2 separate regions of the Homo sapiens genome follow, and region 1 is linked to region 2. Evidence: promoter capture Hi-C in 16 types of primary human blood cells and fetal thymus (Javierre and others, 2016). All regions are on one chromosome and are shown on one strand. Each heading gives the region's core, a stretch centred on a gene start or on the middle of the fragment in contact. The rest is flanking DNA. Distances are from core to core; before and after follow the strand shown. Region 1 overlaps HSD11B1 (hydroxysteroid 11-beta dehydrogenase 1). Region 2 holds the start of UTP25 (UTP25 small subunit processome component).

Region 1 (4,341 bases), core at 35-2,534, 93 kb before region 2:
AAAGTGGTGACAAGGGAGCAAAAGCCTGTATTCTTGTGTATCTCTTCCTTTTACAAGACAGTAAGTCATTATCATACAGCACTCTGGTTTTTCCCACTGGCACTTCCCATTAGCTACTGAGTCATTATGAGACTTCTATCCTCATTCTGCTCCCCCATATTACTTCTCCGCCTCCAACCAAAATACCCAAGAGAGAAGCATGATTCAGATCTCCCAAGTAATCACCTCTAACTGCTCCCACCAATCTCCATCCAGGAAGGCAAGGCCCCTATTAACACTAAGGCCTCTCTTTGCCCAACAGACTCTAACATACCCAGTCTCTCCATGTATTCCCTATAGTGCCTGTGAGGCTTGCAGAGCAAACACTGCCAAAAGCCCCTGACAGCTAAGTGGTTGATGTCTCCAGGCCTTCCATCATGTAGACTGTCCTAGTCAGATAACCCTACTCTTCCCTTGTCATTCTATAGAAACAGCCATGAAGGCAGTTTCTGGGATAGTCCATATGCAAGCAGCTCCAAAGGAGGAATGTGCCCTGGAGATCATCAAAGGGGGAGCTCTGCGCCAAGAAGAAGTGTATTATGACAGCTCACTCTGGACCACTCTTCTGATCAGAAATCCATGCAGGAAGATCCTGGAATTTCTCTACTCAACGAGCTATAATATGGACAGATTCATAAACAAGTAGGAACTCCCTGAGGGCTGGGCATGCTGAGGGATTTTGGGACTGTTCTGTCTCATGTTTATCTGAGCTCTTATCTATGAAGACATCTTCCCAGAGTGTCCCCAGAGACATGCAAGTCATGGGTCACACCTGACAAATGGAAGGAGTTCCTCTAACATTTGCAAAATGGAAATGTAATAATAATGAATGTCATGCACCGCTGCAGCCAGCAGTTGTAAAATTGTTAGTAAACATAGGTATAATTACCAGATAGTTATATTAAATTTATATCTTATATATAATAATATGTGATGATTAATACAATATTAATTATAATAAAGGTCACATAAACTTTATAAATTCATAACTGGTAGCTATAACTTGAGCTTATTCAGGATGGTTTCTTTAAAACCATAAACTGTACAAATGAAATTTTTCAATATTTGTTTCTTATTTTGTGGTCTGAACTCTTTATCTCTTCCTGAGTGGAAGAAATCACCCTAATCTTTGTTTGGTGGGGAATATTGTGTCTTTACCTTTTCTGTGTATTTCTGATATTCTTCATATTATTGCATATTGCTCCTCTGGGAAAGAAGACACCTAGGCATAAGGAACTAGGGCAAACCCAGGAAAATGGAGGTCCCAGAAACTTGAGCCACAGACCCAATGCCCATTTACTGCTCTCAGAGGACATCAAGCATCTGTACTTTACATGTGAACACTAAACTCTGCATTGGAAGTTTGGAGAGGGGGAGTTGGAGTTCAAATCCTGCCACTCACTCATTTAGACATTTACTCATTCAACAAATATTTAGTAAGCACTTATTAGGCATCACCTAACTATGATTAAATGGGAAACAAAACATCAGCATGATGAACAACTCAGCAAAGCCCTATATTGATCAGGGCCCAAGAAGTAAGAGATGACACCCTCAAATTGGGTAATTTTAGTAGCATTTAATAAAAAAAGGGGCAAGGCACAGGGAAATCACAAAAGATAGTGATATCTCAGGGTTAGTTGCAGCTGTTTCCATCGTAAGGCCCACAGGGACAAGAGAAGAGACCTGTTACCAAAACCTCAAGATGTGAAGACCTGTATGGAGAGCACCACATGGCAGGAGCTGTAACATTTAGTTAAGAGATGCAGCCAACCAGCCAGGCGCTGTGGCTCACGCCTGTAATCCTAGCACTTTGGGAAGCTGAGGTGGGTGGATCACGAGGTCAAGAGATTCAGACCATCCTGACCAACATGGGGGAACCCCGTCTCTACTAAAAATGCAAAAATTAGCTAGGTGTGGTGGTGCACACCTGTAGTCCCAGCTACTTGGGAAGCTGAGGCAGGATAATTGCTTGAACCTGGGAGGCAGAGGTTGCAGTGAGCTGAGACTGTGCCACTGCACTCCAGCCTGGCGCCAGAGCGAGACTCCATTTCAAAAAAAAAGAGATGCAGCTAGCCTACCAAGGATTGTGAAGGAGGTGTCTAGGGGAAAAAACACCCTAGCCTCACCTCACGCTCTTCCCTCCCTCTGATCTCTGGCCAGCATTTCACATTAGCTGAACAGAGGGGCAAGGGAGCAGATAGGTATAGACCATACAGGTCAGCTTCCCCATGTACAGAGCAGATGGAAAAGGGTAGAGAGTGTTCTGGAGAAATGAATGGAGTATATCCATCAGGAACCCCAACACTCCCAAACATACAGCTTCCATGGTAAGTAATGCTGGGACATGAGACATGTGCCTAAAAGTGCAGGGGAAATTTTCTTTTCCCACCTCTGAATCTAAATGGCTGGGCAGCAGAACATATTGGAATCTATTGAGCCTGCCAGCCACATGGACAAAGGGCTGGATTTGAGCCTGCTAATGTGGCTGCACTTTTCTTAGAGGTCCTTCCAAGGCTATGCTCAGTGCAAGGGAGCAGGAGAGACCTGGCTGCATCCATGTGCAAAAACAAGACAAAACAAAAAGGGCCAAAAAATGTAGTCTGGTTTCTGACATGAAATGCACCCACACTTGCAACGTGGCTTAATATATGTCCTGGTTTCTGATCAATCAGATTAACACCCTTCAGTCTCTTGTAGAAATGAGACTCCTTCTTCACAGTGAGATGAAGTGAAGTAATTCCTTTACTCAAGGGTAGAGATAATATTAAAGCTGAGTTAGAATTTGCTTGGGGAGAGGTTAAACCTCTTTCTAAATGAGACTTTCTTCAGAATCCAAAGGGGAAGATCTCAAAAAGTAGGTCTGAGAACTGAAACCATCTACACCCACATAGCTTATTGTCTTCATTAACATGATTTTAACATTCCATTCTCTTTATCAGCATGACTTTACTATTCCAAGAAACTCTTGTCCGAGAAGATAAATGTTGCAAGCCCATTTAAAAGTGCTGAATTTTTCAACAGATAGCATCAAATGACTGCTACTCTTTAAGACTGCTTGGAACCCTTAGTTCCAAACCCCAGCTTCATTGTGTTCACCAGTCTCCAGCTATGGCATCACAATCCTTATCCAATTCAAATAAAGTCACCATGCTGAAGTCTCGCCTTAACCTAGACTTCAAAGCCCCATAAAGACCCTGACTTTACCCTCTCCACTCTCAGAGTCTACTAAGACTCCATCAAGACTCCAGCTTTGCCTTATCAACAGGTTGTTTTGGTGGTCTTTTTTAGGGAGCCAACATTCAACAAGTCCTTCCTAAGAGGTCGTCTCAGGGGTCCTCATCCAGTTCCTAACCTGGCTCCCCTGTCCCTTAAATACCTGTCTCATCTCTCAGGACTGGCAGGGGTTCCAGCAGCTGGAGCCAAGTTCCAATTTCAGTGGCACCAGCAGTACAATGACCCTTGTCTTTGGACTAGTTCCACTTAAAAGAACCTAGCCTTCCTAGCTCACTTTATCACGAGCTCAAAAATATACATCCAAGGACGTCCATTTTCACATCCTTACGTGAAATCCAGATGTGCATCACTCACTTCTCGCCCATATTAACACAAAAATTCAGCTTCTCTTTGTAGGTTCCAAAAGTAATTATATTCTCACTGAAAGTATTAGTAAGCAAGGTAGTGTTTGCAATATGCAAGGTAGCATATCTCAGAGGGGAGAAGGAAGACTAAGTTTACATTCATTCAGTGTGCATCATTTTTTTTGTTTGTTTGTTTTGTTTTTTGTTGTTTGTTTGTTTGTTTGTTTTTTGAGACAGGGTCTTGCTCTGTCACCCAAGCTGGAGTGCAGTGGCATGATCATGGCTTCACTGCAGCCTTGAACTCCTGGGCTCAAGCAATCCTCTGGCCTTAGCCTCCCAAGGAGCTAGGACTACAGGCATGGGCCATCGTGACTGGGCTGATTTTTTAAAAATTATTTTTAGTAGAGATGAGATCTTGTTATGTTGCCCAGGTTGGTCTCAAACTCCTGAGCTCAAATAGTCTTCCCATTTCAGCCTCCCAAAGTGCTGAGATTACAGGCATGAGCCACCGTGCCCAGCCCGGTGTGCATCATTTAACTCAAAAGATCCCCCTTGGCCATGTTGCCCTCAAAGTGCTTCCTCTAAGCTTCCCCTCTTAATCTGACTTTGACCCCCCAGAGAATCCAGCCTCTAGCCTCCTTCTTCTCCCTCATAAATTTATTATGCACAGTTGATTCTGACTCTAGTTTGAGGCTATCCAGCAACATCTTTTTTAACAAAA
Region 2 (4,478 bases), core at 1,777-4,276:
GGAAGTACAAAATACCAAGTATAACAAAGTGTGATCAAACTTCTAGATCCAACAATCAATTCATAAGAAATATAGAGAAGAGCATAACATGTTAAACCAACAAAGTATTTTTAAAAGACAACATTTATGAGACAATCAAAAATGTGAACACTGGCAGTATATATGATTATATTAAACAGTTAACTTCAGTGTTTTTTAGGTTGGATAATGCCATTGAGGCTACATTAAAAAAACCCTTAACTTTTAGAAATGCACACTAAAATATTTACAGATGAAATAATATGATGTTTGGGATTTGCTTCAAAAATAATGCAGAGTAGGGACAGGGCAGTGGTTGGGCATATAAATGAGACAAGATGGCCTTGAGTTGACAGTTGCTGAAGCTGGGCAATAGGTATATGGGAGTTCATTCTCCCATTTTGTCTACTTTTGTATACACTTAAAATGTGCCATATAAAACATTTTTTTCTTTTAAATTATTAACTGATTCCGAAACATTCTGATATTCTTGTCCTAAGGGATAGCTATCCTTCTCCCACTCCTTGAGATCATTATCCTAGAGAATCTTCTGGAAATTGCAAATATCCCAAGGAAAGTAACTTGTTAATTCATTAACAGCTATCTGTAAACTAATACAGAGGGTTATTTCCTGGACTGCCTTTAACACTGAAAATATGGAGTTCCTGTGAGTAGAAGTAAAAGAAAACGTTGGGGGAGGGAAACGGAAGGGCAGAGGGAGGGAAAAAGAAGAACAAATTTTGTCTTCATTACAGTTTTCCTAAGGCCTTCATTTGTTGGCATATACATCATCGTTGTGCAGGTTTTACTAAGAGAACTTTCACGGGGGGGCGGGGCGGGGAGAAATGCTTACATTCTTGGCTCTTAGGTTAAATTTTCACAAAGGATCCCTTTTTATGTTGTCAAAGGATAATATAAATATTTTTAGGACAAAAAGGGCTTCTTTTTCCATGACCCAGTGAGCCAATGATGAGACTGCTTGGGTGGGGCTAGGGTAAATTTTTACCTGAACCTGAGAACCGTCTAGACCTGTACACAAGACCACAAGGGTGTGGAAACCGGGAGAGTAAGAGTCACCTCAAGTGCTTGAGAATATAGCTTTCATAGAAGATCTCTGGAAGAACACCAAGAAAGTGGCTGCCTCTGGGGAGGGAAACTGGGGCACTTGGGATATGTTGGGAGGGGGAAAAAGGATGGCTCTTTATTGCTATAGCCAAGTTATACTGTGGTCAGCACCTTAAAATATATGATGACATCTTGCAAACAGGCTTTTGTTGACCTAAGTGACTGTACCTTTTATCTTGAAATTACATAGAAGACAAATGGCTATTTATGGGTTCCTTGGCTGGCCCAGCTGCTGGGCACCACCCGCTCTGTTTGCATGTGTTCCTCATATTCTCCGGCCCTGTCCTCCCATCCCCACCCCAGCCTCTCCGAATCTAATTAGGAATAGTAGATGGTCACTAGAACTGACAAGAATCGCATTCTAATGGTTTTATTACAACTTCTATGGTGTGACACAGTATCAGGGAAAACCCAAATTTCCCACAGTAGCACTCCAATAGCAGAGCTATTATTTTGCTTCTCATTTCTCTCATTTTGGACGCTCCTGTTTTACCGTAAATATTCAAGTGAATTCTGCGGCTTATGATTTAAGCACTCTGTTTCTATAGAACATGGTAGCATAAGTTACTATTAGGAAAAGGATCTCACCATCTTTATCCTGTGGTCTCAAGCAGCCCTGCACACTTGCAAATCCCTAGAATACTGAGTCTACTTTTATATTTTTGCTTTTTCCTGTTTATTTAGGTGTTATTTAAATACATTAAAATTCACCCATTTTAACTGTACAGTTTAACTTTTCTTATGTATACAAGGTGTAACTACTAGCATGATCAAAATGTAAGATGGTTCCTTTACCTTCAAAAGCTTTTCCATCCCCTTTTGTCCGAGTTCAGTTATGAGACACTGGATTGGGTTTCACAGCCTTTTCTAGCATTGACTGGGGTGATTTCAGTAAAGTCACTTTACCTCTCTAGATGTGTTTCTGCTGTTGTTAAATGGGGAATGCTGGAACAGATTTGTTTGCGGGGACTCTTCCAATACTTTCAGAAAATGCGAGAATAGGGTGAGGGTGGGAATCTCAGACTTGTGGGCCCCATGATTGATATAACACACACAGGCGGCAGACCCTAATGGGTAAAAGCATGTGGTTGCATCAGTTAAGGTTTTTCTCTCTTCTCTTGCTAGCGTGTTATCTTTTCTTTTCTTTTCTTCTTTTTTTTTTTTTTCGAGATGGAGTCTAGCTTTTGTCGCCCAGGCTGGAGTAGGCTGGAGTGCAGTGGAGTGATCTCGGCTCATTGCAACCTCCACCTCCCGGGTTCCAGCGATTCTCCTGCCTCACCTCCTGAGTAGCTGGGATTACAGGCGCCCGCTACCACGCCCGGCTGATTTTTGTACTTTTAGTAGAGACGGGGTTTCACCATGTTTGGCCATGCTGGTCTCGAACTCCTGACCTCAGGTGATCCGCCCATCTCGGCCTCCCAAAGTGTTGAGATTACAGGCGTGAGCCACCGCGCCCGGCCGCTAGCGTGTTATCTTTTCTAAGCATCAGTTTCCTTATCTGCAACACCAGGCTTATTAACAAGACCTATCTGTACACTGTTGTGGTGATGAAGTGAGATGTTCAGGCACCCTTAAATGTTGGTTGATATTTTTATTGCAGTATACTGTAAAGTCACTGCATTCGACTATCTCCGCTACTACACATTTACGCAGACTGATTTCCATAACCAAAACACAAGCACAAAGCTCATGCCCCCGACTCACGCAACCCGGGAAGCCCAGCTGCCCACGTTCTAGGGCTCTGAGAACACTAGTGAACGAACTCCCGTGCTTTCAAAGAGCTGCGGTAGGGGGCAGAACCGGGAACCGGATGTTCTAAGCCTGTCGTACGAGCGCGACGTAAAGCGGATCTGCTTTATGGCACCTTGCTTTCGCCGTAAAGCGCAGTCAGCGAGCCCACGTGCTTGTGTTGACTGGACAACTTCCTGGTGGAAAACCGCGACTCTTGCAAGTGGGCAAACTTGACGTTTTCGCTATGGGCAAACGCGGGAGCCGGAGCCAGAGCCAGCTACTCAACACCCTAACTAAAAAGCAGAAGAAACATCTTCGAGATTTCGGCGAGGAGCATCCCTTCTATGACAGGTCTGAAGGGGCGTGGCAGGGCTCCCCAGTCGCCAGAGATGTATCCTCGAGTTTGGTCCTCTGGTCTCCCAGATAGTGCTGCTCCGGCCTTTTCCCACTATTCCCTGGCTCCCGCTGTGCTCGGCCGGGGAGATTCTGGCGCCATCCCGCCGGGAGATGGAGTGCTTCACGGGCCTTTTTGTTGAGCCTGTAATTTCCTGCTAAGAGGCACGCCCGTTGTGTGGGGGAGGATTTTTTTTTTTTTTTTAAGACGGTGTTTCGCTCTGTCGCCCAGGCTGGAGTGCAATGGCGCGATCTTGGCTCACTGCAACCTCTGTCTCCTCCCGGGTTCAAGCGATGCTCCTGCCTCAGCCTCCCGTGTAGCTGGGATTACAGGCGCCCGCCACCAAGCCCGGCTGATTTTTTGTATTTTTAGTAGAGATGGGGTTTCACCATGTTGGCCAGGCTGGTCTTGAACTCCTGACCTCAGGTGATCCACCCACCTCGGCCTCCCAAAGTGCTGGGATTACAGGCGTGAGCCACCGCGCCCAGCTATGGGGGCGGATTTTTGTGTGGTCAGAGATCTAGGAATTTTTTGTAGACACACATATATATATGTATATATATAATTTTTTTTTTTTAAGACAGAGTCTCGCTTTGTCGCCCAGGCTGGAGTGCAGTGGCGCGATCTCAGCTCACTGCAACCTCCGTCTCCCGGGCTTAAGCGATTCTCCTGCCTCAGCTTCCCGTGTAGCTGGGATTACAGGCGCCCGCCATCACACCCGATCAATTTTTTGTATTTTTAGTTGAGACGGGGTTTCACCATGTTAGCTAGGGTGGTCTCGAACTACTGACCTCGGGTGATCTGCCCGCCTTGGCCTCCCAAAGTGCTGGAATTACAGGCGTGAACCACCGCGCTTGGCCTGTTTTTATAATTATTTTTAACTTACATAAAATGATTGTACATATTTGTGGGATACAGTGTGATATTTTGATAACAATACATGTACCCAATGTGTAATGATCAAATCCGGGTAATTAGCATATTCATCATCTCAAACATCAATTCTTTGCGTTGGGAACATTGAAAATCCGCTCTTCTAGCCATTTGAAAATATACAATAAATTGTTAGTTATAGTCACATCATATGTTGTGTGTGTTTTTAAAGAATTTGTTGGGACATCATTGATCTTTGCAATTACGATAAGGAACTAAGTGTATTAGTAGTTGTGGTTTCTCTAGAAATGTCTAGGTGCAGTTATGATCTCAATGC

The links. The method cuts DNA at HindIII sites, captures the fragments that hold promoters and counts their contacts. A CHiCAGO score of 5 or more calls a contact.
Region 1: a fragment that was not itself captured here is called in contact with the fragment with the promoter of UTP25 in region 2 in 2 of 17 cell types (neutrophils and non-activated CD4 T cells); the score reaches 11.4 in neutrophils.

The regions. Positions count from the first base shown.
Region 1 is chr1:209,733,837-209,738,177 of GRCh38, forward strand. HSD11B1 (hydroxysteroid 11-beta dehydrogenase 1) reads left to right here. Exons shown (of 6, transcript NM_005525.4): 6 at 468-1,093. The coding sequence ends at 685. All of the region lies in intron 1 of HSD11B1-AS1 (HSD11B1 antisense RNA 1), which reads right to left. Among named protein-coding and RNA genes, the nearest start is that of HSD11B1-AS1, 6.6 kb to the right of the region's middle. The HindIII fragment of the contact is 5,840 bases long and covers 1-4,204 here.
Region 2 is chr1:209,824,946-209,829,423 of GRCh38, forward strand. UTP25 (UTP25 small subunit processome component) reads left to right here and starts at 3,027. Exons shown (of 12, transcript NM_014388.7): 1 at 3,027-3,225. The coding sequence starts at 3,119. RefSeq lists an enhancer at 3,067-3,116. The HindIII fragment of the contact is 3,327 bases long and covers 1,946-4,478 here.